Linked DNA regions of Homo sapiens: region 1 is linked to region 2. The links are contacts of gene promoters, found by promoter capture Hi-C in blood cells and fetal thymus (Javierre and others, 2016). All regions are on one chromosome and are shown on one strand. The core of a region is centred on a gene start or on the middle of the fragment in contact, and the rest is flanking DNA. Distances in the headings are between cores, read along the strand shown. Region 1 overlaps SKA1 (spindle and kinetochore associated complex subunit 1). Region 2 holds the start of CTIF (cap binding complex dependent translation initiation factor).

Region 1 (4,316 bases), core at 612-3,111, 1.8 Mb before region 2:
TTGTAAGGGGGAAGAGAGAGAGGATGGACATTTGAGGGGAAAAAAGAGCTAAGCTTATTGTTCCTTTGGCTTTTATTTATTTATTTATTTTGAGGCAGGGTCTTACTCTGTCGCCCAGCCTGGAGTGCAGTAGCACCATCAGGGCTCACCGCAGCCTTGACCTGCCAGACTCAAGCAATCCTCCCGCCTCAGCTCCCTGAGTAGCTGGGACTACAGGGGTGTGCCACTGTGTCTGGCTAATTTTTTGTATTTTTAGCAGAGATGGGGTTTCACCATGTTGCCCAGGCTAGTCTCAAACTCCTGGGCTCAAGCAATCTGCCTGCCTTGGCTTCCCAAAATGCTAGGATTATAGGCGTGAGCCACTGTGCCCAGCCTCTTTAGCTATTTTTAAAATGGTAACTTCCTTAAGCTTATTTTTACCCAAAGGCAGTGGTTCTCAATGGTCGGGGAAGATTTTGCCCTCAGAGGCATTTGGCAATGTCTGGAGACATTTTTCATTGTCGTGAATGGGTGGGATGGAGGGATGCTACCAGAATCTAGTAGGCAGAGATCAAGAACACTACTCAATGTCCTATTCTCATAACAAAAAATTAACCTGCCTAAAATGTCAAGGAACAAACGTCAGTTGACAAACTGCTCTCAGGGAAAGAAATGAGTGAAAAAAGAGAGGCTAGAGAGACTTGCCCTTGGCAAACTGGGAAAGAAGTGTTAGATTTTCCTCAGAGACACCAAGATAAGAAAACTGGTGAACATGGAAATACTGTTTTTAGTATAGGTGACAAAAAACTAGATCATCGCTGACAAAACTGCAAGTATATGAAAGAACAAAAGGCTTTGAAGAACTTGTTTTCATGGGTTTATAAATCCAGATAGCAAGAATAATTATAAATACACTTACCAGCTCTGGGTTACTGTTACTTGAGGCAAATGGGAAGGAACGTTTTCTTTAAGATGTTCTATGTCTTTGTAATCTTCTTCAAGAGATTCACAGAGTTCCTAAAATTTAAAAGTGCTCACAAATAAGTCTCTGTCCTCCCCATGTGTGTTTTAAGATATTCTAAAGAGCAGGGAAAACAGTGAACCATAATCACAGTGACTGTGGCTGGACGCGGTGGCTCATGCCTGTAATCCCAGCACCTTGGGAGGCTAAGGCGGGTGGATCATGAGGTCAGGAGATCGAGACCATCCCCACTAACACTGTGAAACCCCATCTCTACTAAAAATACAAAAATTTAGCCGGGCGTGGTGGCACGCGCCTATAGTCCCAGCTACTCAGGAGGCTGAGGGGGGAGAACTGCTTGAACCTGGGAGGAGGAGGCTGCAGTGAGCTGAGATCGCGCCACTGCACTCCAGCCTGGGCGACAGAGAAAGGCTCGTCTCAAAAAAAAAAAAAAAAAAAAACCACATTGACTGGAGTACCGAAAATGCAGAATGAAGTGAAAAAGCAATGAATCCAGCAATAAAAAATTGGTTTCTAGAGCTGTTTTTGGATGGTGGTAATATTTTTCTCTACTGGATTTTTTTCAGGGAACAATCACTATAATCACATTGCAATTACAAAGCAGGACTAAAGTTAAGTCTTTCTCAAATACTTTAATCTTGGGAGATAACTAAGAAATATATAAAGAACTTATGTTTTTCATTCTCATAAATTGCGTTTGTTGGCTTACCAAATGCTCCCCAGTGTTACCTGTGTAACAGCAACCATATTATCACAGCATGGTAATATACCCAGCTGGCAAGCATGAGATGCTGCTTTAGGATGACTTCCACTGTGGGCTACCTACATGCCAGCTTAATGAAAATTTCTACTTGAAAGCTGGGGTGTTTTGGTCTCTAACTTTTACTAGAACTTGAGGCTATGAACTCATACACATTTTAATAAGGAAAATATTTTGTGCCTTTGGATTCCCGCCATCTGGCTCCCAATCACAATGTGAACAGAAATTCCAAATAGCCTTCAGTTCTGAGTTGAGCATTCTCTAGGCCCACACCTAACCCTGGACATTCTTGGGCAGGTTAGAACTGAAATGCCGGTATTGGTTTCTGTTTTGAATTTATATAATGTCTTTTCCTTGAAGAGGTGAATGACATTCATGGATACCAATTCCATTTTGACTATTAGAGTGATAGGCATAATCATGCCCATTCCTATAGCTGAACAATCTTTACAGACTTTAAGGATTATAAGGCTGAATGGGGTCAGGGAGGTCCCTTGTTCAATCCCACTGAGCAATTCCCCAGCTCTAACAATGTGAGGTAATTATGGTACAGATTATTTCCCCCTCAGGAAGTGCACCAGCACTTTTATTAGCTGAACTCAATTTGAAGGCTTGTTTAGAATAAAATGTGCATGTGAATGAGGCTCAAGTTTTTCTTTACCTGAGAACCCTTATATTACCTTTTATAAAAATATAGAAATATAGACATATAAGGGAGCTAAGAAACAGTTCAATATGATCCATTATTTTTTCAGATGAGGTTCTTGAAACCCCAACAGGTAAAATAGCTTTCTCAGGGTGGCAGAGAGTACCAAGGACCACCAAGGTAAGAATCCATATCTCCTCACCCAAAGCAGGTGTTCTTTACATACCACTCTACTAGAACATCATTGTTTAAATTAAAGCTACCAAGAATTATTAGCAAACTCTCCTTTTTAGTAAAGTTCAATTCCACTGGCCATCAGCAGAAAGTAGCAGCTGTGGAGCTCCAAATTCCACTATACTAGGAAAATAAAACATAAATGGCATACTGTACCATTAATAATTTATAAACAAAAAACATTATAAACAAAGCATCCTTAAAAATTACTTAATGATTAGGGAGTTTGTATGTATTGTCTTTTTTACTGCTTCCTCATTAGAGAAACATTACCTTGAGTGAATTGTTGGTTTGTTCTTGATACTGAATTTCCAATTCCAATTTATTTAGAAGTTCATTTATTACAATGATCTCATCTCCTATTTTATTTAATACAGTTTTCAAGGTAGGTTCCTGGCCTGTTATAAACAAAAATAAAATAGAAAACAAAGTGTATAGAAAAGCAGTAGCTATAAGTACTCATGCGAACTCTTAGAATAGATAGCTGTACCTTAGAGAGGGGTGGAAAAAGGTCTACTGCTTTAGCCCCTAGAAAATGACTCCATGGACAATCCTGAAACCTCATTTCTAAGTAGTATGGAACAGAAGGAGGCGAGAGGCAAGGACAATGTCTCTCCTGCGTCTTTTGTTTCTGGCAAATTCTTCCACTTATTAAAACACTTAGAAATGCGAGGTAAAACAAGCATCCTTCTACGTCCACAGCTAAGCTTTCATGAGAAAAAGGCAAATTTCCAGGGGTTCCAATATGAAGAGGGAACTGTGGTTCCCCCTCATACCAGGCAGGGTGTGTGAGCTGAGGCTGCAGCAGCCCTAATCTGAGGAGTGTGGAGCAATGCTGGACAGGAGGTTGTCAATCTCAGCAATTGAATATATTTGATTTTAATAGGGATAAGATCCAAGGTTTTGGGGCTTTAAAACACAGGGTGTTGGAAGTGAGAATCTCAAACGAGGCTAGGACTCTTCTTTATGAATATATTTTCAGTGAAAGTTGTAATCACTCACCAGAGAAATAAGCTTATGTTTTAGACAGGCCCTTCAGTGTGTGTGTGGAAGGGGTGGGAGTGAGGTTGAGGTGAAACTCTCTTTCAGAATTTGTAATATGGATTTGGAATTCATATTAACACTATCCACACTATTCAAAACCACCCCTAAGCAGACAAAGTAACATAAAAAGTCACAAGCTGGTGATAACCCTGGGTACCTGGCAAAAACAAACATAAGACATTTATAAAGTAGTATATTCTCATGGTCCCAATCCCACCTCCTAGCACCCCTCTCTAGGTGAGAAAATCAGAGTCCCTTCCTCCCTAGAAATAAAAGAAGTAGTTTTTTAAAAAATTTAAGGGCAGATTAAAAGCACAGAAGAAAAACTACCTTCATAATTGAAGCTTCCCATCTGCATTTCCAGCTATCTAACAATGACATACACATAAGTAAAAGCAGACTTTGGCAATATGTGTAGATTAAGGAGGCAGTAGAGTGAACCAGGTAGAAGGCCTGAAGTCAGAGACACCAAGTACCTACCTCATTACTGTGAAGATAGGTGAAAGTACATATAAGATGGGCTTAGCCCTGCATGTAGAACGTAATACTCAGTAAATGCTAACTGCCATTCATCATCATCATGAGTATATCATTCTATCTAATAGAGCAACACTACTTGCATTTGACACTCAGCTCATAACAAGTAAAACTAATTAATAAGTAAATGAGAG
Region 2 (4,567 bases), core at 2,068-4,567:
TTGAATTCAATAAAGACTCAATGAACACAGCCATACAAACACAGGTAAGTGTTACATGAACAGGCATACCATATACATTTATTATATGCACATATGATTCTGGTAGAAACTGGATGTATCACAGCTGCTATCCATTCACCAACAGCAAATTATTAAATGCGTGGTAATAACAGCAATGCAGACTTCCGTTCTTTAGTGGCTGCTCTCATTAGGAATGGTTAACAAATCAAGAGTGTTTTGAGAAAGAATATGTGTCAGCATAATATACTCTATTTTTTAGCTTCAGTATTTCCTGAGGTGTCAAGAATCCATACTCAGAAAAAAAGTGGCCACTATTAATTAAATGCCATAAGCTGAGAAAAGGGGGAATGTGGCCCTTCCCCCACCCAGAGGCCTTATGCAAGCCACATTTTTGAGCCTCAGTGTGTTCATCCGTAAAATGGGGCTAATACTCTCCTACCTCACAGGACCCTCTTAATAAATGCTATGATATCTGGCGGGGGAGGGGGGAGGTTCTGGGGGAAGAAAACCTGCCCTGTAAGGTCATACAAACATATTATTATTCTAGCAAGCTGTTAATCACTGATGACACTGTGCCCTAGAATGTGTTACAAAATTGCTGCCTCTGAGCATCCATTATCCAGGACAGATACTTGACACAGATGAGGTGATCTGTGTGTAAATCGAATCCTGTGTCAAACACTCAGGAGTTTCCCCAGACAACCTGAGCGTGTCCTGGCCATCCTCTAGCGTCTGTTCGGTGCATTCTGTTCACGTATAATTGGGTTTTCTTGAAAGCCAGGCCATCTCCTCGCGCAGCCCGAGCCTGCTAGGAGCCTGGATTCCTGAGGTTTTCAGCCCAGATCGGGCCCTGGGCAGGAGGAACTGGGAACGGACAGCCGGCGGCCCCTCCCTGCGCTCTGGGCGGCTCCTTCCTCTCGGCCCTGGCTCCAGCAGCGGCGGCGCTCTCTCGCGCTGTGTCACTTTCGCCCTACGGAGGCTCTAGCCGCGGCCGAGCCGGCGGCTCCAGCGGCTTCCTCCTTGGTCGCGCGGGCCCCTGGACTGGGGGATAATCCTCGGGCCGCAGAGACACAGCGCCGGGCGGGCGGCGGCCTGGGCCGGGCTGGGGCGCGCTGGGCTTGGGCTCCCACTGTCCCCAGACTGAAGAGCCGGGGCTGCGGTTGGCAGTCGCTGACTCTCTCCCCGGTCTGCGAAGGCAGCGGCGGCGAGCGCGGGCACGCACACCCATAGAACGCCTCGGTGCGGGGTCACCCCAGCGTGGACTGGGGGCGGCGCAGCCAAACCAACCCCCCGCGCCGCCGGGTGGACCCCCAGTCTGCCGGGTCACGGGGCGTCGCGGACGCGGAGGGAGGGGCTGTGTGACTCCGGCCGCACAGCGGACCTGGGACTCCTGCACCGAAGACCAGCACACGCGACCCTACGGTCTTCCCCGGCCCACAGCCGCACGGTCCCCTCTCCAAGTAACTCGGGCGCGCGCGCGCGGGGACACACGACCCCGACTTAGACAAGGAGGGGGCTGGCGGGACAGGTCGCGCGGAGGATCGGGGCCCACGCTTGTCCCCACTACGCCGCGGTCTGCGGTCCCCGCCCCCCACACACACCGGAGCCGTGTGTACACACAAACAGCCGGGCGGGGGAGGCGACGCCTCACTCCTCGGGGTGGAGACGCACGCGGCGCCGCCAGTCAGCCCTCCCCTCTACACGCCGCACACCCCGCGGTGCTCACACCCCCCAGCCCCAACCCTGAAAACTCCGCGGAACCAAACAGAGCCAACGCCGCCCAGATAACGGGCTCGGACCACCCCCCTCCCGATTGTCTTTTACCATCAATAGAGAAACACTCGGCTCAGGCGCGCGGTGTCCCGGACGCCCCCTCCGGCCACATCCAGGCACCGGCACGCGGCCCTCCGAGGCCCCAGACCTTCGCCGCAGCCCAAGCCATCGCCCCCCCGCCCGCCCTCCCCCATGACCGGCGCCCGGGACAGTTACCTGCTCGTCGTCCTGATGAACCCGAGCCGGAGCCCACCCCACGGCCTCTCGGGTCACTCGCCACCCAGAGGTGGCTTTTCAGAGCCTGTCAAGTGAACCCCTCTCCGCCGGGCGTATCTATTCCCCAGGCCCGATTGCACCGCAGCGACAGGAATAATAAAAAAAGCCAACAGAACCACAACCGTTGGGAATAACCAAAGGGGAGACCGCAACGGGTCCACCGATTTGGTTTCTTCCTCTGCTCCCATCCCCCGCTCCCCCCGCGGCCCGCGGGCTCACCGGGGACGCAGGGAGGGGGCTGCGCCCTGTCTAGACGACAGCCATCCACAGACATCCCCGAGCCCGCGGGGACGGGCGCGCACACTCACACACGCCCGCTGCCACAGACACAATCAGTCACCGGGGAAGGGAGGGGCGGCGTGGCGACACACTCTCGGGGTCCCTCCCGCAGCCCCGAGTGCCGCAGCCCCCGGCCCCCAAACGCCACCCCGAGACGGGCTCCCTACCTCGGCGGAGCGCGGTCTGAACAGCTGCAAGTTTGGCTGATACTAAACCAACTGCTCGATGCAGCAAATGCGGGCTTCAAAACAAAAGGGAGAGGAATCGCGCTCGCTCTTTTCCTCCTCCCAGGTCGGAACCCGGCACATGACAGCGGCTACACCGCGCAGCTCCAAAGCGAGCCGGGCTCCAGCCGTGCGTCCCCCAAGAGCCCCCCTTGGCGCCGGAGCTCCAGGGCCACGACACCCCGCGGGGCGGGGAACCCGGCAGGGAATGGGACAAACCCAGGGAGGGGGCGACACTGTGGAGTGCAGTTCCCCACCGAGGGGGAGGAGGGGATGGTAGATGGGTGCGGACACCCCGCTGGCCCAGGAGCAGGGATGGGGGGAAGGGGGCTGATTGTTTGGGGCGGTTTTCCCGGATTTATCTATAAGCACGCCCACGTCACGCAGCCCTCCTCCCGGGTCCCCGAATCGATCAGCAAGCTGAGATGACTATAAGAGGAGGACGGGCGAGGAGATGCTCACCTCGGGGTTCCTCTGGCCGCCGCGCCAAGCCCGAGTCGGGGGTGGGGGAAGGGGGCAGGGAAGGGGAAGGGAGGGACGAGGCTCCGGAGAGCCGACTCCTGCCTCGAGTTCGGAGCGTCCCAGCTGCGGAGGGGATCGGGCGCCCCAGCGCACAGACCCAGCAGAGAGGGGAGGGAGGGAGGGAAGGGAAACAGGGAGGGAGGGGCGGGTAGGGGGGAGGGAGTAGAGGAAGGAAAAAAAATGATCCCTGATCTGACACAGGGAAAGAGAATGTAGGAGAGTGACGTTCAGGCCCCGCCCTCCCCTCCGGCCACGTGCAAAGACTTGAAAGGAAAGAGGGCGGCTGGAGGCCTGCTGGGTAATGTAGTTCGCCTTTCTTTTCCAGGATGGCGGGCCCTGGAGAGCAGGGTGGCCCCAGGACGCTCGGGATGTCGCCTTAGCTGCCAAGACAGCCCAGTCTAGCGACGCCAAAACCCGCCGCCCAGCGACCCCACGGCGCTGGCGCAGCCCTGGGTGGGGGCCTCTGCGGTGGGAGAACTGGGGGCTTAGGCGCAGTCCAGGCTTACAGGGAAACGTTGGTTTTAGAGTCCGAAAGGCTTTAAGGATGAGAACGTCCGTGCCGAAAGTGCAAAGTCTGTGCTAATGGCAGATGAAAAGGAGCTTTGTGTATGCACTGGGGGGCCCAAGTGGCGTGATTAATGCTGCACTAAATGCCACCGTCGGTTATTGAGATGCATATGTTATAATTAACATTTGAGCATCTCTGTGTCGGGGGCTGGCTGTTGTAATTAGATACGCACTTTGCAACCAATTAATTTTCCTTCGGCCAAGCTAAGGGCTGGGACGGGGTGGTTGGGAGAATTCAACGTAGTGGATAATTCAGTAATGACTTAACCAGATCACCAATGTTTTGGTTAAAACTGAGCTTGGCACAGAGAGGCCTTCAGGAGAAATACTGAATAAAATACTGTATGCCCCAACAGGGAAGGGGGCTAGAAATTCATTAGAGGAACTGTGTGATGCAGTATAAACTGCTGTAGAAACCCATTTATTCATTAGTTTATATTCACATTTAGTGAGCACTTTCCACAGACCAGGTGTGTCTAGGAATGCCAAAACAGGTAAGACTCACAGTCTCTGCGCTCAAGGAGCTCAGTCCAGTATTAGGGACTACAGTCAATGAAAGTATTATACAAGGGATAAGTCAGCGCTTAACACAAAGTGCTGTGAAATTCCCCCCACCACACAACCTGGAGCAGCCAACTGGATGGAGGGTGGGTGGGGTCTGGGAGAGGGTCAGGAAGACTTCCTGGAGGAAGTGATACTTGAGCAAAGAATTTCTAAGTTTTTTTTTCTTTTTTTTTTTTTTTGGAGACTGAGTCTCTCTTTGTTGCCCTGGCTGGAGTGCAGTGGCGTGATCTTGGCTCACTGCAAGCTCTGCCTCCCTGGTTCATGCCATTCTCCTGCCTCAGCCTCCCAAGTAGCTGGGACTTCAGGCGCCCGCCACCACACCTGGCCAATTTTTTTTTTTT

Evidence for each region. Contacts are between HindIII fragments. The CHiCAGO score rates a contact against its expected background, and 5 or more counts as called.
Region 1: a contact is called between a fragment that was not itself captured here and the fragment with the promoter of CTIF in region 2, in 1 of 17 cell types (activated CD4 T cells). The highest score is 6.5, in activated CD4 T cells.

Annotation. Positions count from the first base shown.
Region 1 is chr18:50,378,809-50,383,124 of GRCh38, reverse strand. It overlaps SKA1 (spindle and kinetochore associated complex subunit 1), which reads right to left. Exons shown (of 7, transcript NM_145060.4): 3 at 2,875-2,999; 4 at 899-996. Among named protein-coding and RNA genes, the nearest start is that of SKA1, 5.9 kb to the right of the region's middle. The HindIII fragment of the contact is 2,899 bases long and covers 412-3,310 here.
Region 2 is chr18:48,537,781-48,542,347 of GRCh38, reverse strand. It overlaps CTIF (cap binding complex dependent translation initiation factor), which reads right to left and starts at 3,317. Exons shown (of 12, transcript NM_014772.3): 1 at 3,036-3,317. RefSeq lists silencers at 952-1,431, 1,752-1,841, 2,272-2,631, 3,132-3,211. The HindIII fragment of the contact is 7,178 bases long and covers 1-4,567 here.